Linked DNA regions of Homo sapiens: region 1 is linked to region 2. Evidence: promoter capture Hi-C in 16 types of primary human blood cells and fetal thymus (Javierre and others, 2016). All regions are on one chromosome and are shown on one strand. Each heading gives the region's core, a stretch centred on a gene start or on the middle of the fragment in contact. The rest is flanking DNA. Distances are from core to core; before and after follow the strand shown.

Evidence for each region. The method cuts DNA at HindIII sites, captures the fragments that hold promoters and counts their contacts. A CHiCAGO score of 5 or more calls a contact.
Region 1: the fragment with the promoter of CYSTM1 here is called in contact with a fragment that was not itself captured in region 2 in 9 of 17 cell types (fetal thymus, activated CD4 T cells, naive CD8 T cells and 6 more); the score reaches 7.2 in fetal thymus.

Annotation. Positions count from the first base shown.
Region 1 is chr5:140,173,385-140,178,181 of GRCh38, reverse strand. CYSTM1 (cysteine rich transmembrane module containing 1) reads right to left here and starts at 2,994. Exons shown (of 3, transcript NM_032412.4): 1 at 2,897-2,994. RefSeq lists a silencer at 2,607-2,896 and an enhancer at 3,187-3,416. The HindIII fragment of the contact is 7,638 bases long and covers 1-4,797 here.
Region 2 is chr5:140,699,913-140,704,925 of GRCh38, reverse strand. ZMAT2 (zinc finger matrin-type 2) reads right to left here and starts at 4,479. Exons shown (of 6, transcript NM_144723.3): 1 at 4,448-4,479; 2 at 4,014-4,107; 3 at 2,797-2,920; 4 at 935-1,008; 5 at 355-500. The coding sequence starts at 4,465. RefSeq lists enhancers at 1,647-2,189, 4,151-4,220. The HindIII fragment of the contact is 1,698 bases long and covers 2,852-4,549 here.

The DNA of each region.
Region 1 (4,797 bases), core at 1,745-4,244, 530 kb after region 2:
AAATGCTCCAGCCCATACCCCAGCCCTGCCTTTCACCTCAGCCCAGTCCCCCTTAAGAAAGAGCATTTCTATTAAAGGCCAGCCCTGTTGTTTATTATAGTTTGTATTTAGGGAAACACACTAACATTTTTTTCCTGACAGTAAAGTCTTAAGTTCTCTACCAATGAGAAAACTTGTGGGGGTGGCTTGGGTGAATGAAAGCAGAAAATTTCCAAAAACTTTTGGCCTACTTAACTGCCCTGACAGCACATAGTTATTTTGTTTGGGAAAGGAGGGGGTGGACTGTTTCTTTCCAAAGGAACCATAATTAGTTGGCCACTTCAAATAGTATCAAAGAGATTTGGAAAACAGTTACTTTTCTAAATTTTTTAATGAGGCCAAGACATCTGATTTCCAGCGATTCTTAATATTAACAAGCTCCTGCAAAGCCCCTTAAAAATCACTATCATAATCTCTACCACTCAACAGGAACACACGGGGAAAAAACTACTCTGGCCTTTTACACACTTCGGGGCTTCTTTTACAGAGAATGACTTCACTGATCTGACTGGAAGTCCCGTTTCCCCAGGTCTCACCCTGGATTTGCACTCCTTTGAGTGCTGCACCGGTTTCTATATTTACGCACAAACCAGCTGCGGCCACCTTCCTTCGCAATTCCCAAACCTGCCTTTCACTGTACAGGATCCCTGGAGGTCCAATTCTGTTTTCTGGAGTCAAAGAAATACAAAATAATTTCACTACCTCCCAGAAAACAGACTTTGGTAAGTTTCAATATAAAATAGACAGCTCTTGAACCCAGGAGGCAAAGGTTGCAATGAGCCAAGATCTCGACACTGCACTCCAGCCTGGGCGACAGAGCAAGACTCCGCCTCAAAAATAAACAAATAAATAAAATAAAATAGACAGCTGTGTATTTTTGGTCCTAGCACCAATAAATTTCAGGGCTGGGAAAAATCATAAATTACCAAAGCATTCCTCTTCATATAACCAAAATATATTTTTCCTGTTGCTCAGGAAATTAAGACAAAATAGCCAACTAACACTTACGCAGCCTTACACGGAGAAACTCAAAGCTGGCAGGAAAGGACTAGAGATTTTTTTTTTTTTTTTTTTGAGACAGAGTCTCGCTCTGTCGCCCAGGCTGGAGTGCAGTGGCGCAGCCTCGGCTCACTGCAAGCTCCACCTCCCGGGTTCACGCCATTCTCCTGCCTCAGCCTCCCGTGTAGCTGGGATTACAGGCGCCCGCCACCACGCCCGGCTTATTTTTTATATTTTTAGTAGAGACGGGGTTTCACCGTGTTAGTCAGGATGGTCTCGATCTCCTGACCTCGTGATCCGTCCGCCTCGGCCTCCCAAAGTGCTGGGATTACAGGTGTGAGCCACCGCACCAGGCCAGGTCTAGAGATCTTTGATCTACAATCAACAAATAGTATGGGACTCCTTTCAGCGAATCCAATGCCCCACATGAATGTTTGGATGCTGGTTCTCCTTTAATAACTTCCCCCTATTAAATCTCTTACCAGTCATTTGGGGTTTGGGTTTCACCCTAGGGATACAAGGTGTTTGTAAGTCACTCTGAAACCTCTGAAGGGCAAAGTGTTGTGGACGCTATAATCTCCCTGCATACTGAGGGGGGCATAGCTCCCAACCAGTCATTAAATCCCGTCAAATGAGATACTCGAAAATGAGCTGCCCTTGGGTGGGTCCTTTCATAAAAAGGAATTTTTAAAAATCTGCTAACATGGTTACTCCACAAAGTTTACATGTATCATATTGTATAAATCTATAAATATGTACAATTATTTTTTGTTTAATTTCTAAAAATTTGCCAACAATGGCTGAAAAAGGCACCTGGCTGCCTGAGCCCCTACCCTTGTCGGTTACAAGTATTTCATAAGCAGGGTTTGAGGAATCCCATCAGAGAAGAGTGTTGTCACCTTTTTGCCGGAATGTCACACCAACTTCCTCAGTGTTCCCCTCACACCAACTTCCTCAGTGTTCCCCCTACCCCAATCTAGCCAACGTTTCAATGGCTCCCCACAGCACACAGTGCCTCTCAGGTGGGCACTCAAGGGTCCTTTCCTAATCCTCCCTAACCTAATTCTCCAAACTTTTTTTCCCCCAAAACAGCCCAGCAGACGGTCCAGTCAGTCCCCAAATCGTTTTTCCTCATGGTCTCCTTCCCCAGGGGTCCTCCCCTCCTTCTCTCCCCCCTGCAACCTCCACTGCTACCGGGAGATTAGTTCCCACCCGTCAGGACCCCGCTCAGATTTCACTTCCTCCAACAGGTCCGCTCAGATCCCAATCCACGGCTCTCAACAGCAGCCGGGATTCCTTTCCCCCGCAACGCCTTCTCTGAACACCCCGGCCTCCGAGCGCCGGCTTTGCGTTCCCTAGTTACTTCCAGTCACTAGTTACTTCCGCTCCGCTCCCACCCGCGGGACTCGCGACCTGCCCCCTGCCCCCGGCTGGCCCAGCTCGGAATAGGCAGAGCAGCGCCTCAGAAATCGCAGCCCAAGGCGAAGAAATCCAGAAGCCTCCCGCGGACGTCCCCCGGGACGGGGTGTGGCGAGCCCCGCTCCGAGCCCGCCGACTCCTCGTGAGACGAGAACCGCAGCGACGCGGAGACCCTGTGAGTCCACCGCCGAGACGCGCGGCGCGGCGACCAGGAGCCCCAGAGTAGCCGCGGGGCGCCGGGAGGGATCCAGCTGGCGGCAGCAGCTTCCCTGCCTCCCTGCCCCTCCCCAGGGGCTGCGCGAACCCCTGCCTGAGCCAGGCCAGCCCGGGTGCCCCCCAGTTCTCAGGGCGCTCCCCAGGGAGCCCGGGGACGCGCCCTGTCCGTGCCTGATCCCCGCCCTGGTCCCAGCTGGGTCGGGCCAGGTCCGCTGCACCTCACCTCTCCTCTCCACGAACCGACTGGATAACGGTCGGGTCTGAACCTGAGGAGCCCGGACCAGCCCGCAGTAGACTTGCCGCACCTGTCTCAGAGCAAGTGAGGAGCAGCCGGGCGCCTGACGTCACGGCCGCTCCCAGCGCCGCGAACCGGGAGTCACCTGATCACCCTGGCAACGCGCGCGGCGCGGGGCGAGGCGAGGCTTGCGTCACAGCACGAGCCCCGCCCCCAACTGCTCGGCCTCCAAGCGCCGCCGGAAGCGCTCTCTTGCAGTCGGCGCAGTCGGGAGGCGGGGTCGGTCTCCGACTTCCCAACGTGGGCCTCCCAGCTGCGCTGGATACTTAGGACTCCCACAGGCGTCCCCCTCAGATTGGATTGGTTCTCCGAGACTCCACCCGATACCCCAACTCCGCTAGTTCAGGCGCCTGGGAGGCAAGACCAGCGTCCATGCGGAACCCTGCTCAGTGCGTGGCATGAGGGGTCGGCTGTGGGCTGCTGCCTCCTCGTGTCTTGTTGGTCCAGACCCAACTAGGGTTGGGGGCTTACTTCCCGAGCTGTACCTGAGCGGAATGGGGCTGAGGCTGATAACTGGATTGCTCTCTGGCTACTTTTCCCCATAAACCTTGCAACAAGTAGTCCCGCCAGTACTTTAGAGTGTAATGAGACTTCATTCACATCAGGAGGGGGAAGGGGGACAGAATCTTCTGTCCTGAAGGTTTCCTTCTTCTGTTCCAACAGGAAGAGAAGTTACCGAAAAGCTCCCAGAGCAAGGCCTAGAATGAGCTTGCAAGTCCTACTTGCAAAAAATTTTTTATTTTTCATTTTAGAAATTGATTTTCTCTCCATATTCCTCCCCTTGCTTGCTATTAGGTTGGTGCAAAAGTAATTGTGGTTTTTGCATTTTTTTTTTAAATGGCAAAAACAGCAATTACTTTTGCACCACTCTAATATAAGTATATGCCTACAACTTTTGTTACTCTCTAGGCTTCCCAGATAAGACTATCAGCTTCGAAATGAAAATTTAACATCCCCTGGAGGTCTCAGTGTGAGAGTCACTGCCTATTTCACACCTTCACTATTTGCTGACTTTCATTTCAGTTTTACTCTCCTCATCCCTGCACTGCCAAGAAGGTTTCATATGTATTGAAACCTTCCCTCTCAAGAGTTTAGGATCTTAGACCAAGAAGTTAGTTTATAGTCAACTTCTTGTGAGCATCTTTTAGTGTCAGGCAATGGGCCATGGGCAGATTGAGATGTGGTTCTCGAAGATCAAACGTGTATGGGTGGTATGTCTCACATAAGTACAACTTGTACTGTTTATTATGACTTAATCATTGTATTTAAGTGGCACTTTTTAATTTTCACACTTAAAGAAACTCATATAAGTGGGAAAGAAGACAGCTGTGAAAGGTAGAGAAGAACCATGGCTCTAGACAGAGCTGTACTAATAGGAGAGAAGAGATTGAAAATGTGAGCCCAGGTCCCAAGGAGCACAGAGGCATGGTCAGAAGGTTGGTAGGAACAGGACAGAGGCAGCCAGGCCTGAGGTGTTTGGCAGATCTGAGGAGGGCAGGGATAGAGGGTGAGGGGAGGAGTGGGGCCAGAATGAGGCTTGAGGGATTCAATGGAGGGCGAAAGTGCTGGGAAGGGAGGAGGGATTGGAAAGAAAGGAGAAGTATGCAGTGGTTTGGGAAGGAGTTGCTGAAAGGGAGGGCAGGGTAAATAGAGACCCAGGAAAGGGTGCTAAGAGCATTAAGAGAAGGGAGGCTGAGAGGCTACAAAAAAGGACTGAGGGGGAGGAAGAAGCAGGTGGGAGACTCTGGGGCAGCAAACATCTCAGAACCAGTCAGTAGGTGGTGTCCTTCAGAGGCTGTTGGAGAAGAGCAGCATTGTCTGTTTGCCTC
Region 2 (5,013 bases), core at 2,451-4,950:
TGTATTATGTATTTTTGACTTATGATATTTTTAACTTGATGATAGGTTTATCAGTAGGTAACCCCATCAGAAGTTGAGAAATATCTGTATGACCAAAAAAAAAAAAAATTTTTTTTTAAATTACAAAAAAAAAAATAAGGCCCAGAGAGTCTAGGAGAAAAAAGTAGTTTCAGAGCCATTTCCTTCAGATCATGAGAATCCTAAACAAAGGCAACAAATGTTTCCGCTAATATACAGAACTCAGGAGATACAACTCTGGGGGTGGGAGTAGGAGTGGGATGAGGACAGGGTCTCCCATGATTCATAACATAAAACTCAAATCTGGGGGAGAGGGGAAGGATAGGAGACCCTTACCTCTTCTCTGAGCTCCTTCATCCTTTCCTCAAAATCATAATCCTTCTGCTTCTCTTCCATCTTCTTCTTGTTGACCTCAAAACGTTTCTTCACCTGATCCAGGGTGGAACGTTCCACACGCATAGACATGCCCAGGTTTCTCTGATCTGCATAGGGTCAACAGTGAAGAAGGCAAGTTCATTACAACATCCTCAGCCCCTCAAAAATTATTTTCCTGACTTCTCTGACATCTCATAAAACACACAGCAAAAATAATTATGGCTAAAAGAAACTCCCTTGGCCAGCTGGGTCCAGGAGCAGCACATGGTTTGGGTGCTGTTGAAAGCCTCATGGCCTCCAGAATGAGGCCTCTTACCTCACGGCCTCCAGAAATATTACATAATGAAGTAAAAGACGGCCTGTGCTGAAACAACTGGAGAGTTCTAATAGGGGCATCAAAAAAGAGCCCAGTAGAAACTACCCTTCTTACTCCAGCCATCTTTTGATGAGTAAAAAGAAGAAAAAAAAAGCTACCCTTCCATTCCACCCCACCTCCAAAACCCAATTCCAGCCCTAGTCACAAGCTACCTCCAAGCCTTACGTTTCTTTCCATTAATGTGATCCAGAAAGTTGATGGAGTCCTTCACCACACAGTCACAGACATTGCAGTAATATCTAACAGGAAGAAACAGCACCTGAGTCAAATATGGTTTTAAGGATCTTATCATTTTCAACCAAGAAACTCAAATTTTTAGGTAAACTTCTTTTTAGAAGTGTTAAGCCTTCATTTCTATAAAGCCTTAGCTTTCGAGAGAGTATAGCAGTCATCTTCCAAGACAGCCCCAGGATGAGCCCCACCCTCTTGGTATTCCTACTCTGTGTAGTCTCTTCCCAATTTGTACCAGAGTTGGTCTGTTTGGCCAATAGAATATGTCAAAAGTAGTATCTTCCAAAATTAGGTTATTTTAAAAACCATGCCTTCTGTCTTTGTTTGGGTTACTTGCTCTGGGGAAGCCAGTTGCTTTATTGTGAGCAGTCTTATAGAAAGGTCTATGGGGTGGCCGGGCATGGTGGCTCACGCCTGTAATCCCAGCACTTTGGGAGGCCGAGGCGGGCGGATCACCTGAGGTCGGGAGTTCGAGACTAGCCTGACCAACACGGAGAAACCCCGTCTCTACTAAAAATACAAAAAAATCAGGTGGTGCATGCCTGTAATCCCAGCTACTTGGGAGGCTGAGGCAGGAGAATCGCTTGAACCCAGGAGGCGAGGCTGTGGTGAGCCGAGATCATACCATTGCATTTCATCCTGGGCAAGAAGAGTGAAACTCTGTCTCAGAAAAAAAAAAAAAAAGAAAAGAAAAAAGAAAAAGAAAAAAGAAAGGTCTATGGGGCAAAGAACTTAGGCTTCCAAACCACAGGCATGTGAGAGAGCTTGGAAGCAGATCTTCCAGCCCCACTTAAGATTCATATGAATGCAGACCTACCTTGCCAACTCCTTGATTGCAGCTTCATGAAGACCCTGAGCCAGAACCACCTAGGTAAGCCACTCCCAGATTCCTTACCCAAAGAAACTGTGAGTGGTGTAGTTTATGCTGCTAAGCTTTAGGTTAATTTGTTAATTTACATAACAATAGATAACTAATACAGACAGGAATGGACAACAGTGGGTTTACTAAGCAGCTCAGAGAAGTGTCACTCATTGCTATCTGTGTTGCTCTCCTGCCAGAAAACCTAACTGGACAGAGAAGCAGTGGGGGGCAAAAGGGTGACAAGCTCTTGTAGGACCCTTCTTCCTATAGGTTATAGTCTTGGAAGAAGGTGTACAATCAGGCATCCATAACAACTACAGCCTTTGCAGCTAGTCTGGAACCTCAAACCCCTCTTCTTCACCATTAACAACTCCTAGGCTCTATTCTAGCTCCACCTAATTTCTCTCCTAGAAATCTCCTCAGTAGTCCTTTCCTTCATTTCTTCTTCTGACAGATCAAATAATCCCTTTTAAAATATTAATAGTAAATCAGAATTGATAACAAGTACAATGGCAATAAAAAATTTAAAAACTATATTGAGTAGTAGCTGTAGTGCTCATAGTATGATTTTTGTTTGTTTTGGTTTTTTTAATTGAGACAGGGTCTCACTGTGTTACCCAGGCTGGTCTTGAATTCCTGGGCTCAAGCAATCCTCCTGCCTTGGCCTCCCAAAGTGCTGGGAATACAGGCGTGAGCCACTGTGCCCAGCCAATGCTAATAACATGAAGAAACCCACTGAGTGACCACTCCTAGAGACACTATCATGTCAACTTGAGACCTTGGGAGACACAGAAAAACAAATATAAAGATAGAATTACAGGCAAGAAGGACGTAATCCTGGGGCCAAGGACCTTCCTTAACACTTCCTAAAACCAAAATAGGTGGCTTATTAGATGCATTCTTGGCTGCAGAGGAAAAATGATAAGCAACTCACCCTCCCATCTCAGATTGAGGGGTTGTCTTGGTAATGACAATTGTCTTCCCAAGCTTGGATTCCAAGTCCACCTTGTAGTCCCTATGCCGTAAAAGCTCTCGCTTGACAGGCTGCACTGGTTTTCCTGAAACATAATGGGGAAGGAAGTCCCTTCAATATTATAGTTCCTCAACCAGAAAGGAAAAAAAATGCATGAAATCCAAAATTCAGGTCTTACTCATTTCAAAATCATTCCTGAAAGGACACAACAGACACTTAAAGTAGCAGCTGGGGAGAATCTCAACACAGGAAGAAATCATAAGCAATCCTCAACTCTACAGCTTTTCTCCACTTTAAAGCCAGCAAATCTAAAAACAGTATGTTTTATATTCATTGATTAACTGAATTGTGGGGGAGAATTTCTGAAGAATTACTAGAAGCAACTTTTTCAAAACGGGAGCAAGGACATTCAAGAATGCTTTCAGGCAGATACCCTAGGCATAACGGAAAGGAACCTTCTGAGAGCTGGGCAAATTTATAAAAGGGGACCAACATCTAGGAAATGCCTGTTACATGTCAAGCACTATTTATTTTACATGTTACATAAAAAATGAAAGAGTTAGTGAGTGCAAGGTGGCCTGGAGGTAAAGGGAAAGAAGAATGTACACGTTTGAAACAGATGACAAAATAAAACATTTCTTTATGCAATCTCTTAAACAGGAGAGAAGCACCAACTCCCTGATGTACAAGGCACAGAGAAACAGCACTACTAAGCTCTAGCTGAAACAATCACAGATCCTGCAAAGTTCCCCGGCTTTTCTCAGACTATATGGGAGGGTCTTGATTGGGCCAGGAATGTTCTCTCCCTTAAGAAATTTCAAGGGAAAGAGGGGGGTCACTGATAGCGGTAATGCACAGCAGCAAAATACTCTACTTAACTTCTCTGTCACTACTAAGGATGCCGTTATCTTCTCTGTACTTCAGGAAAGCATTAAACGAGCCAAGCAAAGGGTGGGCAAGGAAGCAGAGTGAAATAGAGCTGAAGAGCATCTCAAAACTACTTACTTCATCCCACCTCCTCGCTCTCATTTTGTAAATGCAGAAACCTAGGCCCAGGGAAGCAGCACTCTGCCAGAGCTTACACCGCGTGGGAAGGCAGCGCACTTCAACTCCCACCCGCTCTCCATCATCGCATCGCCTCTGTGATACCCTTAGCCCTTGATGTAGTTAGCACCCACCATCTTTCTTTTCTCTCTCTTCCGTGAGCCTCTTCTCGGCGAGTTTCTCATATTCATCTTTGTCCCACTTTCGGCGAAAGTCCAAGTTTTTTGTCTGTGGGGAGGAAAAAGCGTCAAGATCCGTCGCCGTGTCTGGGCCCCTAGAGAAGCAGGGAACCGCGCCCTCGCGGTCCAGGTGTCTACAGGACGTTTTGAAAGCAAAGCCTCTTTGGACTGTACGAGAAGACTGAGGTAGCCTCAAGACCCCAACCCGAGAAACCTCCGCGATTCTACTGACCCTCTGCCAAGGCCTATTACTGGGGAGTTCTTGAACCTGAACCCTGGGATCTCGAGGAGATATCGGGAAGCCAGTCGGGTGCAGGAGTTTGTCTCTATTCAGGTCTGAAAAACCATTCCCCACCCCGCAAAACCTCCTCCTCAGACACAACACCTACCCCGCTGCCCGACGCCATCTTCACAGCGAAGTGAATGGCGAGCTGAAAAACGCCGTAAAAAGCGGCTTGGAGCCGTAAGGCAAGATAGCCCTCCAATAAGCTTGGAGTCTTGTGTTCTAAACGAGCTAAGGACTGGAGGGTTTCTAAAACAGGCTTGTTGGCCCCGCCTCTGCTCCAAGGAGACAGCGCAGGCGCAAGAGGAGTATGAAGCAACACGGAAGTAAGGGCGCTTGCAATTGTTTTTTGCCTTGGATTTCAAAACAAGCATTAAAGGGTCAAGATTTAGTTCAACTATTTTACAAACAAGGAAACTGAGGTTCGCAAAACAGTGGTCTCTGATCTAGTCTAGCAACTTTGCGTCCACTGCCAAGAATTTCTAAACCTTTTTTAAGGCCGAAGCGCCATTAGGGGGTCTAGATGCCTCTCATTCACCTGCATGCACTAGGGATATGACCCTAAACTACACTGAAACGTTTGCAACAGAGGCACCCTTCCCGACGCACATATAAAAAGCATGTTTTGCACTTGGGCTCTTTTCCTTGAAGCAATGCTACCACCCTTTGGTT